Regions from separate parts of the Homo sapiens genome. Here all the other regions are linked to region 3. The links are contacts of gene promoters, found by promoter capture Hi-C in blood cells and fetal thymus (Javierre and others, 2016). All regions are on one chromosome and are shown on one strand. The core of a region is centred on a gene start or on the middle of the fragment in contact, and the rest is flanking DNA. Distances in the headings are between cores, read along the strand shown. Region 1 overlaps SH3GL3 (SH3 domain containing GRB2 like 3, endophilin A3). Region 2 overlaps EFL1 (elongation factor like GTPase 1). Region 3 holds the start of C15orf40 (chromosome 15 open reading frame 40). Region 4 overlaps SAXO2 (stabilizer of axonemal microtubules 2).

Region 1 (2,700 bases), core at 189-2,688, 570 kb after region 3:
CAAGTTTTATTTCTTCTTGTGCTGTCATCATGGAGGAAGGTCATATGAAAAGTCAGCATTGCTCCTCCACCTGGCCAACCACAGACACATATGTGGTCCTGAGTAGTAAGTGGGTGAAATGTGTAAAACACACTTATTCTGAAATGTTGCAGTTCTCTATGCAACAAAATAGTTTTCTAAATGCCATCTTGTTACTCAGCTGCTGTTTGATACAGAACTGTAAATCTAAACTTAAATTATGTGGATGATGGAAAGTTAAGAGTCCAAGGTTTAGGAAGCCTTTCATAGTCTCAGCTATGCTCTGTGTCGCTCAGAAATCAGGGGTCAGGGGCCTGTTCATTTGACATACGGCTGACTTTCAGGTGTTCATGTAGAGGTACAGAGGGATTAGGGACCAGCCCAAAGTCACAGAGCAAAGAGAGAGATGTTTCTGACTCTCTGGGTCTTGTGTGCTCTTTTCACTGAGTCATGGAAGTTAGAAGCAGTGCTTCCTGCTAAAATGAATAGTGCGAGCTATCCCCATGCTTCAGTGGGATGATCAGTTTCTACATACACTTTCGATGCCTGGTATCTGATTTCCGAGGATTATAGCCATAAACTCTCCAGGGACCCCTCCCTTGTCCTGTATAGCTATCCCACTCAGCACTGTTTCTGACACGGGGTCTCTCTGCTTGGACACAAACTGTGATGGGAAACCTACTGCTACGCAAGGCAGCCTGTTCCATGAGTGGACAGTTCTAACTGTTATATTTTGTTAAAGCGGTTATAATATTGTTTAGAAATTTTACTGTTTCAGAGGTTGTCTGTGAATCTCTCTCCTTTGCATTCATTAACAGCGTTTTACGCAACTTATTTCTTGATTGTTTGGGAACTTTACGGAGATCCGTTAATATTCTAAGGGATTGTAGAAGTTTGTGATTTTATAGTCTACTACTTAGTCAGGAGTTGACAATAGTACCAAAAGAAATGTTCCTACTGTGTTTTGTTTGGTTAACCTGGTTAGAAATTATCTGGACATTAAGAAGGCTGAAGTGAGGGATCGTATAAAGAACGTTGGAAAATAATATCTGAGCATGGCTACTGCATCATTACATTCCATAAAGACACTCATTCATTCTATCACCGATCTGTCCATTCATTCATTCATTCCACAAATATTCCTGGAGCACCTGAAGTGAGGGGAGCCTCCATCAGGTGCTGAGGTGCTCCCAACAGCAGTGTAAGGTGGGTTCCTGCCCTCTGGAATCTAGGCCGAGAAAAAGCAATGACCATTTTAATAGAAATAATTTTTTGTGCCAGGTTTTGAATGTAGCACCTCTCTGAGGGACTCCATTCTCTTTTTTTAGCATCACCTGAAAAAGCTGGAAGGCCGCCGCCTGGATTACGATTATAAAAAGAAACGAGTAGGTAAGATACCAGACGAAGAAGTCAGACAAGCGGTAGAAAAATTTGAAGAGTCAAAGGAGTTGGCTGAAAGAAGCATGTTTAACTTTTTAGAAAATGATGTAAGTATTTAAACCAAATAGGAGATTTTAATGTAAATGAATGAAACATTGAATATATGACTATGATCGGCATGTTGAAAAACTCTAAAGCAGGAGTGTCCAATCTTTTGGCTTCCCTGGGCCACACATAAAATACACTAATACTAATAATAGCTGATGAGCTTAAAAAAAAAATCATAATTTTTTTTTTTTTTGAGACGCTGTCTCGCTCTGTCACCAGGCTGGAGTGCAGTGTCTCGGCTCACTACAACCTCCGTCTCCTTGGTTCAAGTGATTCTCATGCCTCAGCCTTCTGAGTAGCTAGGATTACAGCCACGCACCACCACACTCGGCTAATTTTTGTATTTTTAGTAGAGATAGGGTTTCACCATGTTGGCCAGGAGGGTCTCGATCTCCTGATCTCATGATCTGCCTGCCTGGGCCTCTCAAAGTGCTGGGATTAAAGGTGTGAGCCACCACCCCCGTCCAATCTCATAATGTTTTAAGAAAGTTTATGAGTTTGTGTTGGGCCACATTCAGAGCCATCCTGGGCCACATGTGGCTTGTGGGCCACAGGTTGGACAAACTTGCTCTAAAGCCTTAGTTGTTATGCAAGTTTCTAGAATTTTCTCCTATCTCCTGCCTGAGAGATTGATTGCTTCAGACATCCAGCAAGCCCTGACTCACATCTTTTTTTGGAGACAGGGTCTCACTCTGTTGCCCAGGCTGGAGTGCAGTGGCACGATTGTGACTCACTGCAGCCTCGACCTCCCAGGCTCAAGCGATCTTCCCACCTCAGCCTCCTGGATAGCTGGGATCACAGGCATGCCACCAAACCCTGATAATTTTTTGTCAAGATGGGAGTTTCGCCATGTTGCCCAGGCTGATCATGAACCCTTGGGCTCAAGCCACCTACCCGACTCAGCCTCCCAAAGTGCTGGGATTACAGGTGTGAGCCACCACGCCAGCCCCTGACTCAATATCTTAAATCTTGAGGAGTCCTGTTTATCCCAGGATTGCTTCAGAGGTTGTCTCTGAAGATTGCTAAGTAGACTGGCTTTTGTATGTGAGGCCATAGGATTTATGGTTTCACAGGAGAATGAAAAGTCGAGGTCATGTAGTAATTTGCCATTTTGCTGAGACTGAAAAGTACTTGGCAAGGCAGATGGTTAAGGGAGAACAGCTCTCTTATCTGGGGGGCGGACAGCCGCTGTCA
Region 2 (2,700 bases), core at 133-2,632, 750 kb before region 3:
TCTTCTTTAAAGTCATTCATTCAAAAATATTTATTTATATATACTATGCTTTCTATATGTCCAAAGTACAGTGAGCCACATTAGGAACATTACCAGGTCAAAAGTGTCAAATGTTCCTCAACAATGTCAATGAAAAACAAAACAAAAAAGTTTCCTAGTCAAGAGAATCAAAAATTGTCTATATTGCTAGTAATTGTTTAAATTAATAACTTTATATTTTTAGAGCACCTTTAAGTTTACAGAAAAATTGACTGAAGGTTCCCACATACTCTCTCCTCCCACCCACACAGTTTCCCCTATTATATCTATCTTGTATTAGCATATGGTGTGATACCTTTGTTACAACTGATGAACCAATATTGATGCATTATGATTAATTAAAGTCCATAGTTTACATTAGGGTTCACTCTTTGTATTTGTTAGCTGGGTTAATCTTTTCCAAAAACAAACTTCTGGCTTCACTGATCCTTTCTATAAAATGTCTGTTTACTATTTCATTAATTTATGCTTTACTATTTCCTTTCATCTACTTACTTCAGTTTTGTACTTTCTCTAAATTCTCAAGTGGGGAAAATATAAGCATTTCATTATTTCACTCAACCTAGTTTTCTTCAGCCTCCTCTAGATAGTATCTTGGGCCAGCTTCCCTCCCAACCCACACATCAATTCCCAAATCGATCTTCAAGTCTATTGGGTCTACCCTGTGGATTCAATTTTGCTTCTCCGTCTCCTCTTCTCTCTATTCTCTGTCACCTGATAAACCCTATTGATCATATCCTAAATTCATTATGGAAACGAATATATCTTTATTTTTCTACTGCCAAGTAAATTATTCCAAGCCCTTTCAACTCATAGCTACAAATAAAGATCTCTTTAATTTTATTTCCTCAAACGCTATTTTCAGGCTAGGTGTGGTGACTCACACCTGTAATTCCAGCACTTTGGGAAGTCAAGGCAGGAGGATTGCTTGAGCCCAGGAGTTCAAGATCAGCCTAGGGAACATGGCAAAACCCTGTCTCTACAAAAAATTAGCCAGGTGTGGTGGTGTGCACCTGTAGTCCCAGGTACCCAAGAGGCTGAGGTGGGAGGATCACCTGAGCCCAACAGGGCGAGGTTGCAGTGAGCCGTGCATGATCACACCACTGCACTCTAGCCTGGGCAACAGAGTGAGATCCTGTCTCAAAAACAAAAACCAAAAAACCCACTATTTTCATCACAATCCTCAGGCACAAGCAGCTTTCCTTTGATACTTAGGTTAACTTTTAAGGTCTTCTATAATCTTATTCTCCCTGCCAGTATGTTTTCTCTGTCACTAGTCTCTAGGCAAACACTCCACTCAAATAGAGCACAACACACAAATTAGCCTTTATCCGTCTTATTTCCCACTACCTGGTAGCTTTTCTGTCTTCTCCTCAAACCACTCAACTCATTCACCTACAAAGAATCTCTTGCGCTGTGAAATCTTCCACAATGGTGTATCATTTGCTTGCTGCAAAAACTCACTTTTGCACTTAGGATAAAGCAATACAAAGCAATACAGAAGTAACTATTTTTCTCCTCAGCATTTTTATCTTGCAAAATGGATTGGCAGCTTTTAGACGCAAGAATTATGTTTTATACCCTTTTGGATGGCTGAAGAACACAGAAAATGGTTCATCACATTGTTGATAGCTAATACTGAAATGCAACAAGTATTTATAAAATAATAACATACCTTGCCTGCTAGGCGGCTGGAGATGATTCCATTGCTAGATATAAGACAGTCAGCCAGAGTAGTTTTTCCTGTTAAAATAGCAACATCAATTCAAATCTATATCTTTTTTAAAAGGGGTCATGGATCATACCTATAGATTTAAAATCTGGTCATAAGAATTGGTTTAGTAAAGATTTTCTATTTACCTATGCTAGGTGACAAAAGAGATTTATTAGACTTTTGAACAGAATATCATCTGGAAGGACACAGAGGCTAGCACTCTATAATGCTGTAATCTTATCTCCAACCCTGTGGATCTACTCAACCTCATCTGAAAAGTTGTCAAGTAACTTTAGAGAACATACTCTTTTGCCATATTTCCCCATGCATGGCCTCAGCTGGAATTTGCTAAACTGTCTTAAGAAAATACTTACTTATCAAAGAAATTCAGGAACATTATCCATATCTCTTACTGTTTGTAATATAGCATGTGGAGGGCATAAACATACTGTAACAACCAATGAAACCTAGTATCCAAATCTAAACCTAGGAATCTACTTTAAAGCAAAAGAATCTTCGAATATATTTATAGTTACTTTTATTAAGCAGACTACATACAACTAAAGTCTATGAGATTTTATGTGATATAAACAGGTGATTCTGTGTAAAGAATGTCAGGGGTATGCATAATTACTACAACTGGGTTGGAGTAAGCAAAGGAGGGTTTTTTTCCTTCAAGACAAGTCTTTATTGCACTTTAGGAACTTCAGCAAAGCTATGGAATCTCTGTATTGTTCAAACCAGAGACCAATGAGTAGGAGAACTGAAGATATTTAACACTGCTATCTGTCTGCAATGTAAATATGTATTAGCATATAATCCTAGAGCATCACTTTCCTGCTACCCAGTAAAGCTGAATTTATTCTAAGTACACCAAGTATATACCTCCCTAGAAAATAATTATCAAGCAAGCAGGAACTTTGCTTTATTCACAGCAGTATCCCTAG
Region 3 (2,739 bases), core at 70-2,569:
AAGGGAGGAAGTGGTCTCTCTGGTTCCTTGCTCTGGCTTTTACCCTAAAATGACAACCACACAACTTTACAGGTTACAAAATATTTTCCCACACATTTAATTTGATTCTTCCACTACCCCCTTTCACCCTTAACAGACAAACTAGGCTCATCAGTGGTGTCCAGGGACTTCTGGCCACCTAGAAAGCTTTTCCCACAACCTTCAAGGCTCTACTCAATTTTCCCACGAAGGGTTCCCATCAACCCAACAGTGTTTTTTCCCCCCTTGCAAGAAAACCTAACTCTGGCTTCTAAACCTTAATGCTTGCTCCTCCCTCTGCTTTGTATTTCCAATTCCTTGGGGGCAGGGATCATTTATTATTCATCATTGTATCTCATGCAGTCGGAGCTAATAAATGTTGGTGAAAGTGTGTATGTCTGCATGTTGCGGGAAAGGGAGGAAAAAAAAATAGTGCTTGATATTTAAAGGCCTGTTATGGGACAGGGGCTGTGCTAGGAACTTTCGTTCAACAAATATGTAGGCAATGGATATGTAAAGATGAAAAGGTACATGGTCCTTGCTCTCAAGGAGCTCGGACTGCTGCGAGGGAGAAAGAACATACAAAATTATAATACACTGTGCTAAGTGCACCGATGAGATAGGCACAGAACATTACCCCACAGGCAAATCAGCATTGGGGCACTGGAGAATGCTGCCAGCAGGAGGCAGTGCTTGAGCTGAGTCTGAGAAACGGACTGGGGTTGGCCAAACAAAGATGGTGGAAATGGGAGTGCTGTATTCTTGACAGAAGGGGTGCGATCAGCCAAAGCAAGGGAGGAGAAAGCAGAATACAGCCTCCTGGGGAAACGCAGGTCATGCCGCTGCGGGAACATGAATTGCTGGACTGGGAGTGCGGGTAGGAGGCCAAAGGTCAGCACACGCAGCCCAAGGAGAGCTCGGCTGCCGCCGGGCCCAGCGCTCAGAAATCACCAGGTGGACGGCAGCGCAGCCTACTGAGGCGGGGCGACGGCAGCAGGCCGCAGCTCTGGGGGTGGCGGCGGCTGTCCTGAGCCCCGGAACTGAGAGACGGCAAGCCGCTGGCAGTGCCTCCACTCACTCCCGGGCCCCGCTTCTCCCGCGCTCTTCAACAAGTACCCCTGAGGCCCACCCCTCTGCCGCCACGGGACCTGCTACTGGCCTTGGTCGTCGCACCAGCCTTCTTAGGCATCTCGGCGCAAAGAAGCCGAGCGGAGCCCCGAGTATTGGGTGTTGCCCGAAGGTGCCTCAGCCCGCTGCGGAGCCGCAGCATCCCCGCCTGGGAAGGCGCCGGAAGAGCCCTCTGCGCTTGCGCAGGTAGCCGGCAGGAGCGGCCCCACCGCCCGGCGCATCCGCTCTGGCCAGAGGGCGACACCTTAAGGCCGGCGGGAGCGAGTCTCGTGGCCGCAGAACATGCGCGAGTCTCTTTTGTTCTGGAACGGGCCGAGCCCCAGGAAGTGGAGCTGCGGAGCTGAGGCCTCACCGTGTCTTGGCCCACCCTGCTCAGCTGATAGGAAGGTGTGTCACCTCTTTCCTAATCGGGGAAAGAAAGGTATTGTCACTTCTCAGAATTGGAGAGCGCGGCAAGGAGTGCACAGGGCCAGGTGTCTTCTCGCTCCCACAGCCAAGCAGCAGATGCAGAGTCCCACGCGCTGCCTGTGGCCATCAAGTCGATATAGAGCCTCGTGGCGGCTTGGCCCTTGTGAATCTTCCACGTATCGATGGCGCACCTACCTTGTGCCAGGCGCAGCGGATCCCACAATGTAAAAGAAGAGGAAATACACTGCGACATGTGATATGGAGAGACATGAAACAAATCAGCAGAGGCAAGATCATGGAGTCACTGAAGGCTTTCAAGCAAGGGATTATTAGCAGCCCAATTTGCTGGGTTTTAGAAAGACACCGGCTGCACTGTGGCCGACAGAGGAAAAGCCAGAGACAGGGAGATCCGCCCCCTAAATGGGAGAGGGTGGCCTGAACTAGAGTAACCGCAGGGAGGGTGGAGCGCTGATCATTTCAAGGATCTTCAGGAACTGAAATGATCAGAACTTGGGAATGACTGCATGTGCGAATAAGGGGGAAAAGTCAAGGAAATGCCCAGGTTTGGGGCCCAAGGAACAGGTTTGGGAGGCCGAGGTGAGGAGTTCAGCTTTGGACATAATGAGTTTGAGATGCCCACAGGACATCCAAATACAAATGTTAAAGGGGTAACTGAATATATGTGACTGGAGTTTGCGAAATCAAGGCTGGTGATAGAGATTCTGGAATCTTCTGAAAGCAGATGGCAATTGAAGCTATGGAAATGGATGAGAGAGTGTGTAAAGAGCACGAGGGCCCAGGTTAGAACAGCAAGGGCAGGTAGAGAAGTCACCAAAGGACACTGACCAGGTAGGAGTACGGTGTAACGGCAGCTAAAGAAGGGCGCTTCAAGAGGGAACATCAACAGTGATGAACACTCTGGAGAGAACATGTCACATGTAACGACTGAGAAGTGGCCACAAGATTTAGAAATCAGGGTGGTGGTGGTGACCCGGGCTACAGCAGTTTTAGTGGAGAGAAGGAAATGGAGATAATTGTAGAGAATAATCCAGTGACTTCACTGTGAAGGAGCAATTGGTATCTGGAGGGGCACATGACATTCAGAGACTTATTTTTATCATATTTGAAGATTGGTAGGAAAGAGCCAGGAGAAGAGAGGTTACAGCAGAGGACGGTTCCTGAAGA
Region 4 (2,700 bases), core at 88-2,587, 730 kb before region 3:
TACAAATGCCATTTATTAATACAAAAGAAGGCAAGAAATAAGGGGTATGGGAACAAAGAAGGGAAAAGTCAAAAGCAAATAGCAATACAATCAACTTAAGCCCAGCTAGATCATTGCATTAAGTGTAAATGAACAAAATATTGTGATTAAAATTCAAAGATTGATTTTTCACACATTAAAAAGATATTATTTTAAAAAATATGCCAATAATTTACAACTTACATAAAATGGATAAATTTTTTGAAAAATACAATTTACCAAAAGTAACCCAAGAAGAAATAAAAAGTCAAAATAGCCCTATATCTATAAAGGAAATTGAATTTGTAGAATTGAAGGTGTAATTTTAAACCTCACCATAAAGAAATCCAGAATATTCAGATTCTGTGTAGGATGCAGAAGGCTAGAAAGATTATGTTGCCAACATAACAATAAGAAAAAGCCAGATAATCTACAAAATCATAAATGTTTATGAATCCTTTAGAAAGCTGAGATCACAGGTTAACCAATTAGCCTGACATCTGAGGAGAAACAACTTCCACCCAGTTGAGACAGGAGGCAAGCACTGTTTCACCCAAAGCAGGGCATGGAATGAAGACTAGCTGTTACACAAGTGAATAAAATAATTCATTACATCTTTAATTGCTAAAGACTTGAGTATGAGCTACTGCGAGAGTATAGAAGCTCTGAGAACTTCAGACACTAAAGGGAGAGTTCAAAACCACTCATAGACTCTTCCCTATGGATGTTCACTGTGTGATCATGAGAAAGATTGGGAGAAAGGCTGGAGACCACAGAAAGTTTCCTTCATAGTGCGGGCATGGAGAGAAAAATGGTTGTTTTTGCAAAAGAAAAAAAAAAGCAGGAAGCTCCATTTGAATGCCTCTAACCTACAGAGCAAAAGCATTAATCCACTGCAGGAAAGGCACCACTCTGACAACCCCAAGGAATAGGTGAAGATGTATTGCAACTTGATGAAAGACAAAGGAAAAACAAGAAGAAGAAGCAAAATAAAACCAAACCTTGAACATGAAGAAAGAACAGGAAACTGTCTTGGGACCAACAATTAGAGACCTACTACATCAAGTGAAAGGGCAGGTGCTCTGAGAGAGCCCTGCTTCTGAGACCCAGGGGCACAGGGCCTGCCTAAGATTGAAGCTGGACTGGGACAACAGAGAAACCACCACACACCCGCTTTCCATTTCTCAAACACAAGATCCTAAGCTTCAAATATACAAAGCAGCAAGAATTTATAGTACTAACATAAGAAATGTGAAAATATGCATTTGTAGTTGGAGACTTCAACACTGTCTCTAAGTAATCTATAGAACGTAGACAGGAAATGAATATGGATATAAAGACCTGAACGACACTATCAACAATGTTGTCCAAATTGACATTTGTAAAGCACTTCTGTCAACAATAACAGAATATACATTCTTTTCAAGTGCACTTGAAAGCTTCATCCAGATAAACTATATTCAGAGTCATAAAAAAAACCTTAACAAATATAAAAGACTTGCAGTCGTGCAATGTGTGTTTTTGATCATAACAGAATTAAATTAGACATCAATAATAGAAAAAAATGTGGAAAATCTCCAAATATTTGGAAATTAAACAGCAAAATCCTAAATAACTAATGGCTTTAAGCAAAAGTAACAAAAGAAATTAGAAAATATTTTGAATTTAATGAAAATGAAAATATAGTACATCAAAATCTGAGAGATGCATCTAAAGCAATGCTTTTCAGAAAATTTATAGCATTTAAGGTTCATATTAGAAAAGAAAGTCTTAAATCAATAGTCTAAACCTTCATTGCATGAAACTAGAAAAATAAGAGCAAATTAAATCCAAAGCAAAGCAGAAGGAAATAAATGAGGATAACAGCAGCAATCAATAAATTTGAAAACAGAAAAATAATAGAGAAAAACAATGAAACCAAAAATTGGTTCTATTAAAAGATAATGAAGTTAATAAATGAAAAGAGAGAAGACACCAATTACAAATATCAAGAATGAAAGAGAATAGACCTTATAGACGTTTATTTTACATTGTGGCCTCTTCTTTTTTCTTTTTCTTATTTTTGACAATTTTATCAGGTTGCCATTCATTCCATATTTGCTTCAAGAAGGAAGACATTAATATTTAGAAGGTAATATCAACAGTATTTGAAAACCACTTGAAAAGGAGAGAAGGAAATGAGGGAGAGAAAGTCAATTAAACAGAACCTTAGCCTGAGATGCCAAATTCATAATAGAAACTTTGTTGATGTGTTATTTTCTGGGGAATGTGAGTCTGAGTGAGATAATTAATTGGGGCATGCTAAGTTTTCATTTATCTGAGGGACATCCAAATAAAGATGTCTAGTAGGTGGATAAATATGTGGGTTGGTGTTTGAAGGGAGGTCTGAAGTAGGGATTCAAGTTTGGGAGTCACCACCTTACAGGTAGTATTAAAACCATGGGAGTAGATTGGTGATATGTAGATTGAAAAAGCTGAGGCCGAGGATGATGTCCCCTTACTTTCTAAAAGTAGTTTCCAATTCCTCGGTACCACAAGACACCACAGGGAGCAGTCCCAAGTACCAGGAAAAAGAACTAGCATAAGCAACTCAAGACTTTTGTCCTCAAAGAAGAACCTAGAACAGCTCACTATATTAAAATGGGGTTGGAGCTGTGTATACAAATAGTGGGCAAGTGCATG

Evidence for each region. Contacts are between HindIII fragments. The CHiCAGO score rates a contact against its expected background, and 5 or more counts as called.
Region 1: a fragment that was not itself captured here is called in contact with the fragment with the promoter of C15orf40 in region 3 in 2 of 17 cell types (megakaryocytes and fetal thymus); the score reaches 6.8 in megakaryocytes.
Region 2: a fragment that was not itself captured here is called in contact with the fragment with the promoter of C15orf40 in region 3 in 1 of 17 cell types (activated CD4 T cells); the score reaches 6.1 in activated CD4 T cells.
Region 4: a fragment that was not itself captured here is called in contact with the fragment with the promoter of C15orf40 in region 3 in 2 of 17 cell types (total CD8 T cells and naive CD4 T cells); the score reaches 7.2 in total CD8 T cells.

What each region holds. Positions count from the first base shown.
Region 1 is chr15:83,575,237-83,577,936 of GRCh38, forward strand. It overlaps SH3GL3 (SH3 domain containing GRB2 like 3, endophilin A3), which reads left to right. Exons shown (of 9, transcript NM_003027.5): 6 at 1,347-1,505. Among named protein-coding and RNA genes, the nearest start is that of ADAMTSL3, 78 kb to the right of the region's middle. The HindIII fragment of the contact is 8,892 bases long and covers 1-2,700 here.
Region 2 is chr15:82,257,374-82,260,073 of GRCh38, forward strand. It overlaps EFL1 (elongation factor like GTPase 1), which reads right to left. Exons shown (of 20, transcript NM_024580.6): 3 at 1,715-1,782. Among named protein-coding and RNA genes, the nearest start is that of EFL1, 4.0 kb to the right of the region's middle. The HindIII fragment of the contact is 6,257 bases long and covers 1-2,700 here.
Region 3 is chr15:83,010,320-83,013,058 of GRCh38, forward strand. C15orf40 (chromosome 15 open reading frame 40) reads right to left here and starts at 1,320. Exons shown (of 4, transcript NM_144597.3): 1 at 1,178-1,320; 2 at 1-44. The coding sequence starts at 1,288. LOC124903542 (a long non-coding RNA gene) reads left to right here and starts at 1,422. Exons shown (of 2, transcript XR_007064742.1): 1 at 1,422-2,739. RefSeq lists an enhancer at 1,498-1,557. The HindIII fragment of the contact is 2,628 bases long and covers 185-2,739 here.
Region 4 is chr15:82,277,172-82,279,871 of GRCh38, forward strand. All of the region lies in intron 3 of SAXO2 (stabilizer of axonemal microtubules 2), which reads left to right. Among named protein-coding and RNA genes, the nearest start is that of SAXO2, 16 kb to the left of the region's middle. The HindIII fragment of the contact is 236 bases long and covers 1,220-1,455 here.